Linked DNA regions of Homo sapiens: all the other regions are linked to region 3. The links are contacts of gene promoters, found by promoter capture Hi-C in human tissues and cell types (Jung and others, 2019). All regions are on one chromosome and are shown on one strand. Each heading gives the region's core, a stretch centred on a gene start or on the middle of the fragment in contact. The rest is flanking DNA. Distances are from core to core; before and after follow the strand shown. Region 1 overlaps FAM161B (FAM161 centrosomal protein B). Region 2 overlaps NUMB (NUMB endocytic adaptor protein). Region 3 holds the start of ACOT4 (acyl-CoA thioesterase 4).

Region 1 (3,139 bases), core at 118-2,617, 350 kb before region 3:
ACAAATACATACAAATGTGGCGAGTTATTTACAAGGATTAAAAGGGGAAGCATGGGAGCATATATCAAAGGGACCTAACCCGGGGATTGGTGAAGCAAGGGAGCAGTTAGGGAAGGTCCCCTGAGAAAGTGGGCCCTGGGGCTGAACTGAAGGAGGGGCGAAGAGGGAGGAGAAGTGGAGCAGGCAGAATGTGGCATGGAGGGGAGAGAAAGCAGAGCATCTGCAAGGGATGGAAAGGTCGAGGGCTGAGAGAAGAGGGAGTGGGAAGGAAGAGGCAGGCATGGGCCAGACATGAGGAGCTTTGCAAGCCACGTTGGCGAGTCTGGACTTCATCCCAAGGGCACAGGGAAGCCACTGAGGGAGTGAGGCAGGGTGGCCCATGATCAGAAATATAGTTCAGAAGGATCCTTCTGATTGCTGTATAGATAATCTGAGAGGGCAGCAAGACTGGAGGGATGTTGAGCCAAGAGGAAGCTATTTCACAATTCAGTAGAGAAATTGTGCAACTGGTTGCAGGGATGAAAAAACGAGGATGGACTGGAGAGAGGTTAAAGAGGAGGAAATGACAGAACTTGTGACTGATGAGAGACACGGAGGAGTCAGTGATGTGGGCAAAGGGCCTGGGCAGCTGGGTGGATGGTAGGGCCTTTCTCTCAGATGGGGAAACCTGGGAGAGGAGCAGGTTACTGGCCCACTTCCTCTGCTTCATCTCTGAAGAAGCAATCATAGAAAGTGCTCAGTAAGTGTAGATGGTCACTGCTTCTGCAGCCTGATTGACACAGGCAGTGGTGTTCTGGATGACATTTATTAACAAGCTCTCCAGAAAAAAAAAAAAGGAAGCTGGTTTGTAATGTTTGTTATTTTCTGTGGCATAATTACTCCTATTCAGGCCATCTGCAGGCATCTCACAGGATGTTAACGTGTCAGAATTCCTGAAAAGTTCCTACTTGCCTCCAGTAACACTTACAGCTAGTGTGTAAAAGAGGGAAAGTTCTCCAACCCTGTAGGTTTCTTGCTTGGTCCTTTCTTACCCATCACCATCCTTTCTCCACAGAAGCTGAGCTCTTCAGGAAAATTCGCATCCAAATGAGAGCCCTGGACATGCTCCAGATGGCCTCTTCCCCTATCGCCTCCTCTAGTAACCGGGCTAACCCACAGCCCCGCACAGCCACCCGAACCCAGCAGGAAAAGCTTGGGTTTCTGCACACTAACTTCAGATTCCAGCCTCGGGTGAATCCTGTGGTCCCTGACTATGAGGGCCTTTACAAGGCCTTCCAGAGAAGAGCAGCCAAAAGAAGAGAAACCCAAGAGGCCACTCGCAACAAGCCCTTCTTGCTGAGGACCGCCAACCTGCGCCACCCTCAGCGGCCCTGTGATGCTGCCACCACCGGAAGGAGGCAGGTGAGAGCCCAGGCAGCTGTGGGAGGGTCAGGGCTGCGGCCTGAAATACAGGGTGGGGCCAGGTCTTCCTGGAAAGCACTTCTCAACAAGGTTTTCCTATCTTTTTTTTAAACACCAGCTCAGTTGTAAGCAGATTCACTTTCCTATAAACTCCAGACCACAGCCCAGCCTGGGCAACAGAGACCCCATCTCTAAAAGAAAAATACAAATATTTGCCACATGTGGTGGTGTGTACCTGTAGTTCCAGCCATTCAGGAGGCTGAGGTGGGAGGACCTTCTGGCTGCAGTGAGCCAAGATGATGCCACTGTACTCCAGCCTAGGCAACAGAGTGAGACCCCATCTAAAAACAACAACAAAAAACAGGCCAGGCGTGGTGGCTCACGCCTTTAATCCCAGCACTTTGAGAGGCCGAGGAGGGCAGATCATCTGAGGTCAGGAGTTCGAGACCAGCACGGCCAACATGGCAAAACCCCATCTCTACTAAAAATACAAAAATTAGCTGGGTGCGGTGGCGGGCACCTGTAATCCCAGCTACTTCAGAGGCTGAGGTAGGAGAATTGCTTGAACCTGGGAGGCGGAGATTGCAGTGAGCTGAGATTGTGCCACCGCAGGCCAGCCTGGACAACAAGAGTGAAAGTTCATCTCAAAAACAGAACACAACAGAAACCATAGGGACACTTCTTTTCCTCCCTTACTGTAGAAGGATTTCACAGAAATAAGTCCAAGCAGGCTTGAGAGGCAAGGAGTTGGGATCAGTTGTTGATGTCTCTATACCAATTCCAAGGAACTCTTCTCATTTGACTAAAAACTTTAGGATTGATATCCAAGTCTTGGCTTGGTTGTGAAACTTGAGATCTCTTTATCCTTGCCTTATTCCCAGGAAAAAAAATGAAGATTCTCATTTTCAGTCCTTCAGTGAAGCTGAATCCTAGTAAAGATAGAAAATGGCTGGGCGCGGTAGTTCACACCTGTAATCCCAGCACTTTGGGAGGCCGACACGGGTGGATCACCTGAGATCAGGAATTCGAGACCAGCCTGACCAACATGGTGAAACCCCGTCTGTACTAAAACTGCAAAAATGTAGCTGGGCATGGTGGCTCACAACCTGTATAGTCCCAGCTACGTGGGAGGCTGAGGCAGGAGAATTGCTTGAACCAGGCAGCTGGAGGTTGCAGTGAGCCGAGATTGCGCCACTGCACTCCAGCCTGGGCAAAAGAGCGAGACGAGACTCTGTCTCAAAAAAAAAAAAAAAAAAAAAAGATAGAAACTAATCACACATGCTGTCCCACCAATACCAACCTTTGTTTCTTCTAGGATTCCCCACAGCCACCAGCTACACCCCTGCCAAGGAGTCGTTCTCTGAGCGGCCTTGCTTCCCTCTCTGCCAACACTCTCCCTGTGCACATCACAGATGCCACCAGGAAGAGGGAATCTGCAGTCAGGTGAGTGGTCAGGCTGCACGAGACCCATGCTCTGATTCTGGCCCCAAATGCTGGAAACCTCCCTGCCAAGGGGCCTCCTTTCCTGTTATCAGAGATACCTCAAGGGGTCAAAGGGAATTTTCTGATCAGGACTGGAACAATTGCGGTTCTCCACACCTGGTGCTTGGAGAACAGCTAGCCATCATTCAGCACATATTCATAGTGGGCTTATTCTGTGCCAGGCACAGTGTTAAGGCTGGAGATCTTAGGGAACCTCCAGTTTATTATCTAGTCTGAAATACAGAAAAGCAAAGAA
Region 2 (2,901 bases), core at 365-2,864, 310 kb after region 3:
TCACAGTCTTAATTTATAAATCACTGAATGAGAATAAAAGATCTAACATTTCTGTCTTAGTAGATATGCTTTGTGACATATAGTACATTACTAAGCCTTTTATCTGTCTGAAAAATGGATCCGAACCCTGCTTCTAACTTATGTTTTAAGAGACACTGGGAAGGAAATGGGTAAAAGGACCTAGAGGGCTTTCGAATTTGTCAGCTCTCTAAACGCAAATTATTTGAAGACATTGCTAAGGTCTTCATTCTCTTTATTTTCTTGAGCTGAAACAGATAAGATAGTCGTTGGTTCATCAGTTGCCCCTGGCAACACTGCCCCATCCCCATCCTCTCCCACCTCTCCTACTTCTGATGCCACGACCTCTCTGGAGATGAACAATCCTCATGCCATCCCACGCCGGCATGCTCCAATTGAACAGCTTGCTCGCCAAGGCTCTTTCCGAGGTTTTCCTGCTCTTAGCCAGAAGATGTCACCCTTTAAACGCCAACTATCCCTACGCATCAATGAGTTGCCTTCCACTATGCAGAGGAAGACTGATTTCCCCATTAAAAATGCAGGTAATGTAGCATCTACCTGACTCACTGGGTACTCGAGCACTGAAGCATTCTCATCACTTCCCATGAAGACACTAATCCCATTAAACTAGGCATTCCTCTTTCCCTGAGGTTCGTTGATAGTTGTATCTTTTGTCATTTCCCATAGTGGGAAAACTAAGGTCCGTGGAGGGGGATGTGAATCCATAATTTCTCTTCAACAAACAGGCAGCAGAGCCATTGTGGAATTTCTAGCCTAAGCCATAAGATTTGTGGTTTGTCCTGATGTAAGTGCATTCACTGCCTTTCAGCCAACCTGCTCCCAAACATCAAGGGTCTCAAGTTTCTATTCTTATTCTGCCATTGGGACCCAGCAGGGAATTAATTAAAGAGGCCTTAGAAACACATAGCATTACCAGCAGAAGAAATGGATATGTGCTCATTGTCCTTCTGGCTGGTTGGCTCCATAAGGAGGAAACTCTAGACAGGTCTTTCGTGTACATCTAAGATCTGTTGTTCATCACAGACAGTGGACTTGTTCACAAGTATTCATTACCTTTCAGAACCGTCTCACAGGCCTTTGTGTGGCCTCTGTACAGCTATGCCAGCCTCTATAGGTCTATCCTCGTCATAAAATCTGTAGCTAAAGTATTAGATCTGGTCAGTGCTTTTGTTGGGCTCTATTTTACTTCCCTCTGAGACATGTCAAGCCATTGCTATAACAAAATATGAGGAAACTGTCTCAATAGGCCATTCCTACTGATGGTATAAAAGTACAGAGAGTTAAGTTCATCTGACAGATGAAACTAGGCCTAAAGAATAGTTGGACTAGATGATTACGGAGGGTCTTTTCAGTTCTCAGCTGAGGTACCTCATTTCAGTTCAGTCTCCTTCTAGGGCAGACAGGGAATAAAAACTATTATTCTCTTTACAGATGAGCAAACAGAGCTTTAGCACACATAATTAGCTTCCTCAGTGATACAGAAGTATCCTAGAGTCAGTATTAAGAATAAAGGCCCTAGCGTCCTACACCTCTGCTCACTTTTTCATGTTATCATAGATCATATGCTTAGTACTGGAGACTTTGGAGAAAAATGAGATTGATGACATTGTCATAGTTTGTTACAGAGAAAAGCACTAAGCATCCACTAGTGCCCAGACTTGAACCCATTTTCCTGACAGAATTACTAAAGGCTCCAGAACCTAATTCAGATCACAGTCTTGAGAACACGTTGGAAGGCATACAGGTTGCAAATGTCTTCTACAAAGATCTGGCTAGCTGAACATCTTGGCACAAAAAGGACAGATCCTCAACAGTGTTATAAGAAGAAGAAATGAAGAAATTTGGGGATTTGTAAGGGAGGAAGATGTGCCTTAGTACATTAATTGTTGACATTTTATACTTTCCCATCTGAAAAGCCAATGAAATTGTGGCCAGTAAATTTTTTGAAACTGGTTTTGTAGCCCTGCCATACAGTTAATTGAGCCTTTTCTTACATAAGCAGGAGATACAGTATAAAGTGCCAGCTTGCATCATACTGTCAAATTTCAGGATTATTCCATTTTTCTGTCTGGAGCCATTTTCTGTTTGCCTTGCAGTGCCAGAAGTAGAAGGGGAGGCAGAGAGCATCAGCTCCCTGTGCTCACAGATCACCAATGCCTTCAGCACACCTGAGGACCCCTTCTCATCTGCTCCGATGACCAAACCAGTGACAGTGGTGGCACCACAATCTCCTACCTTCCAAGGTTGGTGCCCTCTGACCTGCTCAGCTGTTCTCTTTACAACCAGTACTTTTAGTACACTGCTCACTAACTGTAAGTTGGCATCCTGAGCTTCCCAAGGCCTGGTCAGACCCATTAATTTCTCTATTTGATGTCTTAGATTCATTGATTTCTCCATTCGACGATGTCTTTGTGCCCTTCCTGTTTTCTAAGATGTCTGTGTTTGTCATTCTGCATGTGCCCATCTTTCACCCCATTCTATAAGGAATTTCTGTAGTCCCAACCTACTGCCTTATTTCCCACTTGACTGTTAAGGATCAGCATACCCATCCAGTTTCCCAAAAGCAGTAGTCATCAGAATTGGTTCAAAGGTTATGCTTTCTTTAGTGTAGTGGTTCTCAACTGGGGCAAAGTTTGTCTTTCACTGTCTGGAGACATTTTGGGGCTTTACAAGTTGGGGGTTGGGGGTGTTACTGGCTTGTGGTTAGATGCCAAGAATGCCACTAAACATCCTTCAGTGTAGACGACAGCACCCACAACAAAGGATTATCCAGCCCAAAATGTCAGTGGTGCCAATGTTGAGAAGCCCTGGACTCACCTAGTCTCTGCCCTGTCAAAGAGGCTAATAAAGAAAAAGGCACTC
Region 3 (2,890 bases), core at 365-2,864:
TATGCCTGTAGTCCTAGCTACTTGGGAGGCAATGGAGGGAGGATCACTTGAGCCCCAGAGGTCAAGGCTGCAGTGAGGTGTGACCACACCACTGCACTCCAGCGTGGGCAACAGAGACAGACACTGTCTCAAAAAAAAAAAAAAAAAAAAGAAAGAAAGAAAAGAAAAAAGATTGAAACAAAACTTTATGTTCTGTTGCATCAGCCCTCTGGTTTTTAGTGTACTGATATTTCAGATGTCTATGTAGAAAGGGAGGAAAGAAAAAGAAATACCCAGAGATGGTTTTAGGTGAGAAAGGCAGTGGAGTCTGAAGTGTGACCTGTGATAAAGCAGCACATGAAGAAGTGGAGAAGAGACAGTGTGCCTAGAACACTAGAGAAGACGACATGGTAATAGCTTCATTCACTGTCATCATTCTGCCTTAGACAAGTCAGGCTGATGCCTGTAGAAATCTGTAGGGTAGTGATTAATAGCAAAGTGGATAATGTACCTGACGACCTGAACCTGTTTTTTCATCTGCAGAATAACAATACCAACTTCATTGGGATATTATAGAGACTAACTGATAGAATGCAAGTAAAAACCGTAGTACACAGCCTAACAAAAAATCCTTTTTTTTCTTTTTTCTTTTTTTGAGACGGAGTCTCGCTCTGTCACCCAGGCTGGAGTGCAGTGGTGCGATCTCGGCTCACTGCAACCTCCATCTCCCAGGTTCAAGCGATTCTCGTGCCTCAGCCTCCCGAGTGGCTGGGACTACAGGCGTGTGCCACCAGGCTGGACTAATTTTTGTATTTTCGGTAGAGTCAGCGTTTCACCATGCTGGCCAGTCTGGTCTCAAACTCCTGATCTCAAGTGATCCGCCCATCTCGGCCTCCCAAAGTGCTGGGATTACAGGCGTTAGTCACCACGCCCGGTACCAAACCCTCTATTTTGGTAGAGTGGCCACTGACATAGTCAATGTTAGCTTCTCTGATCTTGCTCCAAAACCAAACCAGTGCTAAATCAGCACTGGAAACAAACGGAGACTCAGGCCACTGACGCTCACACCACCCGCCAGCAGCCTGGCTCACCTGGCGGCAGGAAGAGCGTGGCGCGCACCCGGCCCGCTCGCACCGACTGGCGCCGCACCCCTGGCGGGAGGAAGTGGCGCTCGTGCTGCGCCTGGCACAGCAGCCGTCCAGGCTCGGGGTCGTGGCCGTCCAGCACCTCCAACTCCACGACAAAAGGAATCTGTACGTCCCGCTTCAGGAAGCGCCAAAAAGGCTTCTCGGGTTCCAGGGCCCAGAGCAGCCCCATGGGCTCGAGTCCCGCGAAGCTGCCGCCCAGCGCGGGTGCGCGCTCCAGGTCCAGCTCGCCGCGGGCGTCGGCGCAGTAGCGCGCGTGGGCCCGGAAGAGCGCGCCCTTCTCGTCGCGCAGGGACGCGCGCAGCGTAACCCGCTGCTCCGGGGCCAGGCCGCGCACGGCAATGCGCACCGGCTCGTTCCAGCAGCAGCGGCCTGGGGGCTCCAGGATCAGCGTTGCTGACATCTTGGAGCCGGAGCGGGGAATTCAAAGGTCGAGGCCCGAGACCCGTCCAAGATCGTGGCAAGCGCGCCGAATGTCCGGACGGCGTCCGGCGTCCCCTGGTGCCGGAAGCTGCCGGTGGCTGAGCAGTCCCAGAAAGCCCCTGGGACTTCAGACCGGTTAACCCGGCGCTCCGGACTCGTCTGAGGCAAAAGTAGCCAGGCTCCTCTTCAGGGTCGTCTCCTTGGGCCCCGGGGCGCGCAAGGTGTGGCGCCCAACCCACCCCGTAGAAAGCCTCTCTGCCTCACACCACCCTCGGTTGTTGGAATGAAAGTTGTTGGATGATCAATTTGTGGTGAAACCAAAAGCCAATGAGATCAAGCCAAATTCCAGCCTTTCATGGGCTCCATGGAAGGTTTTGTTTTTAACTTTTTTTTTTTTTGAAACAGAGTCTCCTCTGTCGCCCAGGCTGGAGTGCAGTGGCGCTTCGGCTCACTGCAATCTCCGCCTCCTGGGTTCAAGCGATTCTCCTGCCTCAGCCTCCCGAGTACCTGGGATTACAGGCGCGCGCCACCATGCCGCTAATTTTTGTATTTTTAGTAAAGAGGGAGTTACACCATGTTGGCCAGGCTGGTCTTGAACTCCTGACTTCAAGTGATCTTCCCGCCTTGGCCTCCCAAAGTGCTAGGGATTACAGGCGTGAGCCGCTGCGCCCGGCCTGCTTTTTTGTTGTATTTGAGACAGGGTCTCTCTCTGTCATCCAGGCTGCAAGGCGGTGGCTCGATCACAGGTCACTGCAGCCTCCACCTCCCAGGCTCAAGTGATCCTCCTGTCTCAGCCTTCGGAGTAGCTGTGACTACAGACAGCGCACCACCATGCCACGTTAATTTTTAAATGTTTATTTTTAGAGAGGAGGTGTCACCCTGTTTCCCAGGCTGGTCTCGAACTCCTGAGCACAAACTATCCTCCTGCCTCTGTAGTCCCAAAGTGCTAGTGATACGTGACAGCATGCTGGCTGCCCTCGCTCGCTGTCGGCGCCTCCTCGGCCTTGGCGCCCACTCTGGCCGCGCTTGAGGAGCCCTTCAGCCCGCCGCTGCACTGTGGGAGCCCCTTTCTGGGCTGGCCAAGGCCGGAGTCGGCTCCCTCAGCTTACTGGGAGGTGTGGAGGGAGAGGCGCGGGCGGGAACCGGGGCTGCCCGCGGGGCTTGCGGGCCAGCGCGAGTCCCGGGTGGGCGTGGGCTCGGCGGCCCCGCACTTGGAGCGGCCGGCCGGCCCGCAAGCCCCGGGCAGTGAGGGGCTTAGCACCTGGGGCAGCAGCTGCTGTGCTCGATTTCTCAGCGGGCCTTAGCTGCCTCCCCGCGGCGCAGGGCTCGGGACCTGCAGCCCG

Evidence for each region. Contacts are between HindIII fragments. The study calls those that stand out against the background at their distance.
Region 1: a fragment that was not itself captured here is called in contact with the fragment with the promoter of ACOT4 in region 3 in 2 of the 25 tissues and cell types used here (dorsolateral prefrontal cortex and spleen).
Region 2: a fragment that was not itself captured here is called in contact with the fragment with the promoter of ACOT4 in region 3 in 1 of the 25 tissues and cell types used here (aorta).

Annotation. Positions count from the first base shown.
Region 1 is chr14:73,940,631-73,943,769 of GRCh38, reverse strand. FAM161B (FAM161 centrosomal protein B) reads left to right here. Exons shown (of 9, transcript NM_152445.3): 4 at 1,055-1,401; 5 at 2,717-2,844. Among named protein-coding and RNA genes, the nearest start is that of FAM161B, 7.9 kb to the left of the region's middle. The HindIII fragment of the contact is 9,683 bases long and covers 1-3,139 here.
Region 2 is chr14:73,281,740-73,284,640 of GRCh38, reverse strand. NUMB (NUMB endocytic adaptor protein) reads left to right here. Exons shown (of 13, transcript NM_001005743.2): 10 at 267-560; 11 at 2,136-2,282. Among named protein-coding and RNA genes, the nearest start is that of PAPLN-AS1, 37 kb to the right of the region's middle. The HindIII fragment of the contact is 6,061 bases long and covers 1-2,901 here.
Region 3 is chr14:73,590,597-73,593,486 of GRCh38, reverse strand. ACOT4 (acyl-CoA thioesterase 4) reads right to left here and starts at 1,614. Exons shown (of 3, transcript NM_152331.4): 1 at 1,071-1,614. The coding sequence starts at 1,527. It also overlaps a transcript of HEATR4 not described here. RefSeq lists a silencer at 1,000-1,069 and an enhancer at 881-1,380. The HindIII fragment of the contact is 17,984 bases long and covers 1-2,890 here.